4 separate regions of the Homo sapiens genome follow, and all the other regions are linked to region 1. Evidence: promoter capture Hi-C in 16 types of primary human blood cells and fetal thymus (Javierre and others, 2016). All regions are on one chromosome and are shown on one strand. Each heading gives the region's core, a stretch centred on a gene start or on the middle of the fragment in contact. The rest is flanking DNA. Distances are from core to core; before and after follow the strand shown. Region 1 holds the start of SMIM23 (small integral membrane protein 23). Region 2 overlaps FGF18 (fibroblast growth factor 18). Region 3 overlaps FGF18 (fibroblast growth factor 18). Region 4 overlaps LOC105377721 (a long non-coding RNA gene).

The links. Contacts are between HindIII fragments. The CHiCAGO score rates a contact against its expected background, and 5 or more counts as called.
Region 2: a contact is called between a fragment that was not itself captured here and the fragment with the promoter of SMIM23 in region 1, in 3 of 17 cell types (M1 macrophages, M0 macrophages and endothelial precursors). The highest score is 7.0, in M1 macrophages.
Region 3: a fragment that was not itself captured here is called in contact with the fragment with the promoter of SMIM23 in region 1 in 1 of 17 cell types (M0 macrophages); the score reaches 5.0 in M0 macrophages.
Region 4: a contact is called between a fragment that was not itself captured here and the fragment with the promoter of SMIM23 in region 1, in 4 of 17 cell types (M1 macrophages, M2 macrophages, endothelial precursors and 1 more). The highest score is 6.2, in M1 macrophages.

What each region holds. Positions count from the first base shown.
Region 1 is chr5:171,784,492-171,787,154 of GRCh38, reverse strand. It overlaps SMIM23 (small integral membrane protein 23), which reads right to left and starts at 1,338. Exons shown (of 4, transcript NM_001289970.2): 1 at 1,179-1,338. The coding sequence starts at 1,283. The HindIII fragment of the contact is 8,257 bases long and covers 1-2,663 here.
Region 2 is chr5:171,432,183-171,434,845 of GRCh38, reverse strand. The region is part of intron 2 of FGF18 (fibroblast growth factor 18); the gene reads right to left. Among named protein-coding and RNA genes, the nearest start is that of FGF18, 14 kb to the right of the region's middle. RefSeq lists an enhancer at 72-607. The HindIII fragment of the contact is 4,550 bases long and covers 1-2,663 here.
Region 3 is chr5:171,449,423-171,452,085 of GRCh38, reverse strand. The region is part of intron 4 of FGF18 (fibroblast growth factor 18); the gene reads right to left. Among named protein-coding and RNA genes, the nearest start is that of FGF18, 31 kb to the right of the region's middle. RefSeq lists an enhancer at 552-1,123. The HindIII fragment of the contact is 7,697 bases long and covers 1-2,663 here.
Region 4 is chr5:171,470,462-171,473,124 of GRCh38, reverse strand. The region is part of intron 2 of LOC105377721 (a long non-coding RNA gene); the gene reads left to right. Among named protein-coding and RNA genes, the nearest start is that of FGF18, 52 kb to the right of the region's middle. The HindIII fragment of the contact is 1,140 bases long and covers 743-1,882 here.

The DNA.
Region 1 (2,663 bases), core at 89-2,588:
CCAGCTGCTCGGGAGGCTGAGGCAGTAGAATCACTTGAACCCAGGAGGAGGAGGTTGCAGTGAGCCAAGATCGCACTGTTGTACTCCAGCCTGGTGACAGAGCGAGGCTCCGTCTCAGAAAAAAAAAAAAAAAAAAAAAAAAAAAAAAAAGGAAACAATGGGACTCTGGTAGAATCAAGGTGGGAAATGCTGTGGTAAACAAAGCTATGCAGACTTCTTTGTTGCAGGACTTCTCAGAGCCTTCCTTACGTGAATGAGCAGCGTCAGTCTTCAGGAGGGGATGCGGGTATGCAGCCTTCCCCAAGCCACAGAATTCTGTAAAGAATGTTTCTAAAAGGAGCATTCCTGGGGTCTGGTGTCTATGGAACACTTTTTAGGAAAAGCCGCAGCATGATGGGTGCCCATGAAGGCCCCTGTTATACGCTACAAGGTCCAGCATATAGAAGGCGCTCGGTGCATGTATAGTAAATTAATGAGTGAACAAGTCTTTTGAAAACAGAGACAGCAGAGCTCATTCATTCATTGCTCTGCTTAAAACCCGTCAACAGCTTCTTCTTATCCTCAGAATAAACCCTTGCTCAGGGTTCTCATAGCAGATGAACCTGGTTTCAGGGAGTTCTAAAATCAGATGGATGTGTTTTCAAATCCTGATATGTCCCAGTTGTACGGCCCTTTTGCCTTTCTGGGCCTCAGATTACCCTCTGTGAACGAGGTTGATAGCATCTAAGAGATGGGGTGTGGATGCACCAGGCTGTGTGCAGCAAGCATTAATGTTTTCCATTTTGACGAAATCCCACATGAGTTTTGAATTTCAGCCCTGAGAATGAATCCTCCAGGAGCGCTCCAATTCAGGAGTATTATCAGTTCATTCGTTCATTCAGCATCTACTTGGCACCAAGCACCATGCTAGGCACTAGGGATTCAGCAGGGAACTAAACAAAAAGCCCAGTCCTCCTGGAACATACCTTCTGCTGGCAGTGCTGAGAATTTAATAAGACAGTGTCAGTGATGGCCCCGGCAAGAAGTGCCTAGGCCCCTAAACTGTGCTCCATCAGAGTGGGATCCAGGGACGGTTGGGTCCAAGATTCATTCCGGGCTTTGAGGGACTTCTAGTCTGTCTGGAGTGGCAAAAGGAGCCCAGATGGGAGGAAAGCAGCATGTACCTGGCCTGGCCTCACCTGCTTCTCGTCATCACAGTGGCTGCCCCTTCTCCGTTCAAGCAGCTGGGCTGCCACCTGCTCTGCTGCCACCTGCCTTCTGCTGTCCACTTGCTGGGTTGCCATGGCCTCAGATCTGGCTGCCTGGGTGGACCACACTCAACAGACAGAAGGGCACCCTTCCCCTCCCCCACCTGTGGTCACCAGGCATCCTGCAAACATTGAGTTCTGATGTCACAGAAGGTAGGGACAGCAAGGTTCCCACCTTTCCACCACCCTGATTTTTAGTCCCTTCCCTCATTTTTATTTTTCACATGAGTGTAGAAAACAAAGATCAGGAAGAAATGCATCAAAAGATTATGTTTCAGGATGATGATTTTTCTGATTATTTTCTTCTATATTTGCAAGTTTTTAATAAAAATGCTAATTCTAAAATATAAAAACAATAGTTTGGGTGCAGTGGCTCACACCTGTAATCCCTAGCACTTTGGGAGGCTGAGGCTGGAGGATTGCTTGAGTCCAGAAGTTTGAGACTAGCCTGGGCAACATGGTGAGACCATGTCTCTATTTTTAAAAAATTACAAAAAAAAAAAAAACAATAAAAGCTATTTTTAATTGAAAAATGTATGGAGATAATTGTGGATTCACATGCAGTTGTAAGAAACAATACAGAGAGATCCTGTGTACCCTCTATGAATTTTTCCCCCAGTGGTACAGTAATATCCTGCCTCACTGCAGTAGGAGATCACAGCCTGGATGTGGACATTGATACACTCTACCAATCTTACGCAGACTTCCCCAGTGTTACTTGTTCTCATTTGTGTGTGTGTGTGTGTGTGTTTAATTCTAAACAATTTTGTGTAGGTTTGCTTACTTAGGACAATAGTCAAGACACAGAAGAGTTTCAAAACTACAAGGGGCTTTGTGCTGCTTCGTGATGGCTGCTGCCTCCCGACCCCACCCACACTGTCCTTAACTCCTGGAAATCACTCATCTGCTCTCTCTTTCTAAAATTTGTTTATTCCAAATGCTACATAAATGGAATGAAACAGTATTTAACCTTTGGGGATTGGCTTTAAAAAAAAACATAGTATAATTCCCTGGAAATTCATCCAATTTGTTGCATGTATCAGTAGTTCATTCTTTTTGACTGCTGTGTAGTATTTTGTGATATGTGTATGCCATAATGAAGGACACGTTCCAAACCTGTTCAAAACCCAGCTGCCTCCAGTTTTTGACTCTTGCGAGTAAAGGTGATATGAACATGCTTGTACATGTTTTTGGGTAAACGTAAGTTTCATTTGTCTGGGATAAATGCCTGAGAGTGCAGTTGCTGGGCCATAGCATCATGGCATGATAGTTTTATAAGAAATTGTCAAACTGTTTTCCAGAATGGCTGTGCCATTGTACATTCTCATTAACAGTGTATGAGTGATTTGGTTTCTCCTCATCCCCACCAATATCTGTTTACACTATTTGTTCTTTTTTTTTTTGAGACAGAGTCTC
Region 2 (2,663 bases), core at 47-2,546, 350 kb after region 1:
AGTAGACTGGCAGCACCATCAAAAAAAAAAAAAAAAGGGAGAGAAAGCTGGAGCAGTGTCTCTCATTTGCCACTATATCCGCAGCACCTAACACGGTAGAAACTCAAACGCTTCTTGAATGGATACATAAACAAATGTTGAAAAGACCTGGAGTCCTGCTGTGCCATTTACCATTGGAGCAGGGTCCCCTACACCCTGCTGGTTGTATGCATGTCCTATCCCATGTCAACCACAAGGCTGAGCCATTCCTGAAGCCCAGACAGCATTCTGGGTTTGTTCCCTGTGTGCCCACAAAGTCTATCACAATGCTAGGCACAAGGGACCCCCATTCCCACGCTGGCACGCCCCCACTCAGCCCATGGCAGAGCTCTTGGGACCCTGGCTGCCCAAACATCTGTCTCACCTCTCAGCTGTGAGCTCCCAAGGGCAGGGATGTGTTTCCTTCATTTGCTACAGCAGGATCTCTGTCCCCAAGCTGACCTGCATGTATCTCCCGATCCTGGACTGGGCCCACAGGTATGTCAGCAGGACCACATTGTTGAACCTTCATGATTGTCCTCAGGGTGGAAGCATCATCCCACATTATGGATGAGGAAACTGTCAGCTCCACTGACAAGGCCCCAGAGCAGTAATGCAGAATTAACCCCAGGCCTTGTGACCCTAAAGACTGTGTTTCCTGTGCCCCACCCCTGCGGGCAGCCCCAGGCCACTGCCTTGCGGGGCCCTGCCTGCCCCACCAGTGCTGTCAGGAGCTGGCCCTGGGTTCAAAACCCAGGATGTGCCACTCTCTAGCTAAGGGACCTTATGCAAGTTATTAAACTCTAGTGCCTGTTTCCTCACCTATAAAATAGGGTGATGATAACAGCACCCTCCTCATGAGTGGCTGCAAAGGTTAAACATATAAAGCAATATATTAAGTGCTCAGAGCAGTGCCTGGCTCAGTAGGGGTAACTAGTGATAGAACACAAGGGAACCCTTTATGGGGCCCTAGGTGAAGCCCTGCAAACCAGATTTATATCTGGGAAGATGCTATTGCTTTTGATAGTCCTGACAACCTTGCACCATGAGAACGCTTATCACCCTCATTGAATGGATGGAGACACTAAGGCCCAGAAAAGTTAAGTCCATTGCTCCAAACCACACAGCCCAGTGAGGCAGGGCCTGGCCTGCTGGCCCACCATGTGTGCCTCCTCTTCACTTCCCCCAGCCCTCAGCAGCCACACACAGTCACCACTCACAGCCCGGGTCTGATACCTGGGTCCCGCCTCCTTCCACATCCTGCTGCTCAGGGACAGAAGAACTCCAGTGCTCCTGAGGCCCACACCTGGTGGGCATTTGTCCGGAAGACTCCCCACCCATGGCCTTTGACCTTCCTGGAATGACTTCCGGAGGTGGCTGGCCCTGTCCCCTCCCCCAAGGGCAGGCCTCTGGCGTCCCCTCCCTGTCCTTCTACTCTCCTCCTGCTCACAGGAGACCTTATCGACCAGAGGTCAAACCAATCTCCTTCCCCCAGGTCCCCAAGGGGAGCTGCCCTGCCCCAGAAGCCGGCCTCCCATTAATGATTTTCTCCCTGGCCCACTGGACAGAGGCAGTGTGGGTGACCCAGGGTCAGCAGGGGCTATCGGGTGGCACTTCCCCAGGATGCGGGAGGGAACAATCCATCTTGCCCAGCTCCCACCATTGAAGCCCCATTCTGTGGCCAGATCAGCCCCCAGGGAGGTGGCGGGGGTGGCCTCTGGTGGCCTCTGGCTCGGAAACAAGGTCTGTTCTCCTGGAAAGGCAGGAAGCACCCCGGGCTTCCCAGGCAAGACCTCTGGAGGGTGTGACACGTCCTACCCCGAAGCCTTTCCTAGCCCCACCTCCCAGGCTGGGTGAGGGCCCCCGAACACTCTACTGCAATGGCTTATTGTCCCAAGTCCAGTGTGACTGGTTCATCCCTGAATCTCACCTCTGCCCTCAGAAGGCAACCAGCAAACGCATGCCAAAAGGCGGCGGCCAAAAGTGAGGGAAATCTGGAGGCCAACATCAGCCCTCCCACTTACCAACCAGAGTGCCCCACAGAGGGATGTGTTAAGGCAACTGACTACCCAGCATTCCCCTGTTCCAGACACTCTGCTAAGAAGACCCCTAGGCTGGTCGCAGTGGCTCAGCACTTTGGAAGGCCGAGGTGGGCGGATCGCTTGAGGCCAGGAGTTCAAGACCAGCTTGAGGCCAGGAGTTCAAGACCATCTTAACATACTGAAACCCTGTCTCTACTGAAAATACAAAAATTAGCCAGGTGTGGTGGTGCATGCCTGTAATCCCAGCTACTCAGGAGGCTGAGGCCGGAGAATCACTTGAAACTGGGAGGCAGAGGTTGCCATGAGCCGAGATTGCACCACTGCACTCCAGCCTGGGTGATAGAGTGAGAATCTGTCTGAAATAAATAAATAAATGAATAAATAAGTAAATATAATTTTTATAAAAAAGAAGAAGAAGAAGAAGAAAATGACCCCCAGACATGGCACCTCAGCGACCCGTGGAGGTGAGCACCAGTTAAAGCCCATTTCAAGGTCTGCTGCCAGAGCACATGCATAGCGGGGCTGCCTCGGGAACATCCACTTCTCCTGTCCTACTAGCTGCGTGGCAGGTCACTTGGCTCGGTGCCCTGCAAGGGGGGCCTA
Region 3 (2,663 bases), core at 52-2,551, 340 kb after region 1:
CAGGAACCATGTTTCTATTTCTTTGGTGCCCCCGGAGCCCTTTGGCCAGGTACACAGAACTCAGATGAATGGATGCAGAATCCGCCCTCAGGGAGTTCCCAGTGTGACAGAGGATGCAGGCACAAAGACAAACAGTGACAACCCAGGTTAGCAGACAGGCAACAGAGGGCTGTGCGAGGGACTGTGGGGCTCCGGGGTGGGTGGGCTGACAGAGGGGTCAGGGAATGACCAGCCAGGACTCAGGGCAAGTGGACAGAGGGAAGGGCAGTCCCGGCAGAGGGCACAGCATGGACAGTGCCCGAAGGCCCCGTCCATGGAACAGCGGTGCTCAGTGCCACGCATCTGGAGCATAAGGAATCCATGTGCCCGGGGAGGCTCCCCAGGGCCTTCGGTGTCCCATAGCAAGGTGGGAGGACCCATGGATGGGTTTGGAGCTGGGTGGGGGTGGAGGGCAGGTCATGTGCCGCCCTCCAATGCCGTATGTGCTGTAGAAAGCCGAAGGTGGGCAGCGGGGAAAGGCCTGGAGATGCAGAAGCCACACGCCAGGCGGCTGGGGCAACGATTTCCGGGATGGTAGGAGGCCAGAACAGAGGCGGTGGCAGGGGTTAGGGCAGGAGGGGACACCCAGGGCCTAAGGTACGACTGGGCAGGGAGGCTGTGGAGAGGACCGCAGCCCAGGAGCCAGATTCCCGCCTCGGGGGCCAGAGAGCGAGGGGGCGCTGGGCGGGGCAGAGGTCAAGCCTGGACAGGTGGATTTGGTGGCGTCCTCGAGTCCCCCGGGTGGGCCCAGAAGACAGGAGGCTGGCAAGGGTTGGGGTCGGGCGTGGAGGCCTGGGCGGGAGCGGGGGAGGCGCCGGGGGCCGGGGCCGGGCCTCCCTCCGCTGCGCCAGGGTGCGCCGCGCCAGCTGAACCGTCACCAATATTAATGACGGGAGAGAGGGCGAGGGGGCAGGAAATCGGAGCCGGCTCCTGTGGAAGCGGTGACTCAGCGGCTCGCCCGCGGGCGGGAGGCGGCCGGCGGCGGGGTGGGGGGGCGGCCCGAGGGGACGGGGCTGCTCTTTTGACCCCCGCGCAGCCCTCCTGGGGTCAAGATGCCGGGAACAGCACGCAGACGGCGAGGGCGGGCCGCGGCGTGGGCACGGGCACTGGCGGGTGCCGCTGGCCCCTGCTGGGGGAGAAAGAAAAACGAGCCGAAAACTCAAAGCAGGTTGGGCCTGGGAGGCGGCCCAGGCGGGCAGGAGAACAAAGCGCCTGACGCGGGGCTGGGCCGCGCCGCCACAGGAAACGACCGGCCAGGCCAGGGGGACCGGCCAGGCTAGGGGGACCCGGCGCCCGCGCCCCAGTCCGTGGCCCCGGCCCCGGCCCCGACCCCCCTCGCCGGCCGGCCAGCCTCGCAACGGCGGAAAGTGAATCACTAATTAAAACCACTCCTCGGCATCCCGGAGCCGCGCTCTGCGGATTACTATTATTTTGCTCTTTGAGAAGCCTCAGTTGGTGTGGGCAGTGCGGCTGGAATCTTTTCCTTCCAAACCGGGCTTTGAATCCCGCCGAGCTGTAGTGTGGGACCTGGGACAAGTGCCCGGGCGTGGCCAAGCCTCGGCTTCCTCATCTGTGGAATGGGGATGGTAGCGGTGGCAGCCTCCTGGGATTCACTGGGAGCGTTTCAGTTCAGTGCCGGGCAGAAAGTCAGTGCTCAATTAGCGGAAGCTATTATGACAGTAATTATTAACAAAATAATGCGACAATGCCCTGGCTGGGATCTCTGGCCTGTTACATCCTCCCCAGCCTCTTGGTATGGGGGAAAGGGAGAGGGATAAGACTTGGGGGATTCAAAAAATCAAAAACATGGCTTCAGCAAGACTGAAGTCATCTCCCCCACCCCCAACAAGATGTAATGAACCGCAAATAATCAGCCAGGGCATTGCCCCCAAGCACAAGCCCATCCCCCTTAGAATCCAGGCCTACCCTCCACCCCACTCCACCTGTCCAGGCAAAACCCCCTCAACCCTGGTTGTACAAACTGCATATGGGAGTCAGTCCCTGCAGAGAGAAGGGGACAGAGAACCTGACCCTACCATAGAGCTCCTGTGGATAACACCTTCCATTGGAACACCCAGAGGAAGCCAGTTCATGACTTTTGCAAACAAGCGCACCCAGGAAACGAACAGGGGTGCTGAGAAGCAGCATCATTGGAGACTCAGATCCCCACACACGTGGGTCTCCCCAACCCGAGGGTCCCCCCAACCTGCACCCCCACTCCTGCCCCCACCCTAATTTGTTAAATGCAGCTCTCTTGCCAGTTTCAAAGTAATAAAATCTTTCTGAAATGCTAGAACCAAGAGGCCCAGCGCTGACGAGGCGGCCAGGTTCCAGAGGTCACTGCTGCAGGACGGTAAGCCCCTGGCAATTGTTAAAACGATCGATGCAGCCACAGCCCTTGGCCTGCCGGTTCCTTGCTCCCAGACGTCAGGGACATGTAGCCGGGGTGCCCCAGAGCCCCTCAAGGATTCTCCCACTACCAAGCAAGCCAGAGCTCCACACCCAACAGGAGAGACACAGCCATGGATACCTCAGCCTGGTGAGTTCAAGTGCCCGGGGAAGAGAAGTGGGGGATGGGATGGGGTGAAAGGAAGAGATTACAGTCTCTCTCTCTCTCTCCTGTC
Region 4 (2,663 bases), core at 63-2,562, 310 kb after region 1:
CAAGAAATTGTCCTGCCTCAGACCCCCAAGTAGCTGGGACTACAGATGCCCGCCACCACACCCAGCTAATTTTTGTCTTTTTAATAGAGACGGGGTTCGCCATGTTGGCCAGGCTGGTCTTGAACTCCTGACCTCAAAACAGTGGGATTACAGGTGTGAGCCAATGCACCCGGCTGTGATAATTTTTTGAGTCACATGATGCACATGTTTCCAGCTAAGGTCAAACAAGGCAATGCCCTTCTTCTTGTTCAGCTCTCTTTTTATAAACAAGCATCCTTTTCAAGGTCCATTTAGTGCCACATTTTTATCTGGAGAAGCTTCGTCCGGTAGTTACGGTGCTGCTGACCATGCGTTGAGTGTCAATGAATCAACAATATATATTAAATAAAGTGTTTAAACAGAAACACACATACAACAAGGTATGTGTTGATCCATGGATGAAAATGCTGTGACCAGAAGCTCACAGGAACCTAACCTGTGGTTCCTCTGGGAGCAATAGGTTGGTGTTCACTAGTTTCATTTGTGGCAACTTTACAGAACATAACTACCACCAGAAATGAGAATCAACTATATCTCCTGTTTCTCCTTCTCTTGGCCTGCTTCCTTCTCTCCAACTCAATGTCCATAGTAGGGCAAGGAACAGGTCGCCCACAGCTGTGCCTCATAGCCTCTGCCACCAGAGAGGGGCTTTTCATGTTTGAAAAATCCGGGACCAATCAACTACGGTGGGAGTGGGGAAGCTTGCACATATACAGGGTGTCTCCCAGTGAAACTATATAAAATTCAGGAGCACCAGTTCCTAAAAGAACAGAAGACTGCTCTCATATGCCTGGAAAAAAGACTGAGCAGACAAACATGTCACTCATTCACACATACACACACACATGCACATATTTACTTAATTCTCATTGCACAAGTTTTACTATATCCACATACCACCTGTAACATTACCACCTAGTTTTCCTTAAATTAACTCTTTATTTATTTGCTTAAATGTATTTAAAAAGAAAATTTATATTTCTATCATATATAGAAATTGATCATCAAAATAAACTTGTAACGTTAAAATAAAAAGCAAATGTTAGTCCAGAAGCCATCTGAAATTCTTTCGCCTGAAATTGACCATATGTTTAGAAACATAGGTTTATGTTTTAGTCTCTGTCTCTGAACTGGGAGCTCTGTTCCAAGGAACCATCTCTCATTCACTGCAGCTCAGCACAGGACTGGCACGTATGAGCACTCAATAAACATTTTATGTCTAAGCTCAGGCTTCTGCCACCTGCATCTTCCTCTTAGGTACATTGGAGAGGACACCGGTTGAAGAAGAGGAGCCCCTCAAGAGGAATGAAGGGGCCGGGTGAGATAGCTCATGCCTGTATTCCTAGCACTTTGGGAGGCCTAGGTGGGAGGATCGCTTGAGTCCAGAAGTTTGAGACCGGCTTGGGCAACATAGTGAGACCCTGTTTCTACAAAAATAAAAATTAAGAATTAGCTCAGCTGGTGGTGTTCATCTGTAGTCCCACCTACTTGGGAAGCTGAGGTGGAAGGATTACTTGAGCCCGGGAGGTTGAGGCTGCAGTGAGCCATGATTGTGCCATTGCACTCCAGCCTGGGCAACAAAGACCCTCCTCCAAATAAAGGAGGAATGAATGGATAGAGAGAGGCAAAGAGGGAATGGAAAGGGGGTGCGCCTAATGGGCTGAGCCCTATCTGGCCTCTTCTTAGAACTACACCTGCCACGGACCTACTGCCCTCCCATGTACTTTTCCTGTTTCCTCAACATCTTTGTCTGGACTGTATCCCCTTCCTAAAAAGCTCTCTCTTTTCTCTCCAAGACTCATTCTTCAAATACTACCTCCTCTTCTGTATCAGTTGGGAAGCTTTTAGCAACACGTAACAAAAAACCCAGCTGCAAGAGACTTAACTACAAAAAAGTTTTGTTATCTGAGACAATGAGAAGACCCCATATGGCTTAATTCGGCAGTGGAACAATATCATCGAGAACTCAAGCTCGTTCCATCACTTTGCTCTGCCATCCTCAGTGCAGCAGCTAGCTTTCCTCATGGTCTCAAGATAGCTACAACAGCTCCAGCCCTCACATCCTCACCAAAATGCAGACTCAAAAAAGGAATCATGACTTCCTTGTGTCTGTTTTTAAGAATCATGAAGCCAGGCATGGTGGCTCGCGCCTGTAATCCCAGCACTTTGGGAGGCTGAGGCAGGTGGATCGTTGAGCTCAGTAGTTAAAGACCAGCCTGGGTAACATGGCAAAACCTCATCTCTACAACAAATATAAAAAAATTAGCGGAGCATGGTGTGCTTGAGCCCAGGAGGTCGAGGATGCAGTGAGCTGAGATCACGCCACTGCACTCCAGCCTGGCTGACAAAGTGAAACCCTTCTCAAAAAAAAAAAAAAAAAAAGAATCATAAAACTTCTCTAGAAACATGCTCCACCTCCAACACCACCCCACGGACCCTAATAGTTCATTGGCCAGAACATGATCACATGCCGCGTCTGAAGCCAGTTATTGGCACAGGGGATGCAGTTAGCGTGATGGGCTATAATGAATCAAGACTCACCCGTTGTTTGGGAGGCCGAGGCAGGAGGATCACATGAGCCCAGGGTTTGAGACTAGCCTGGGCGGCAAAGCGAGACGCCGTAT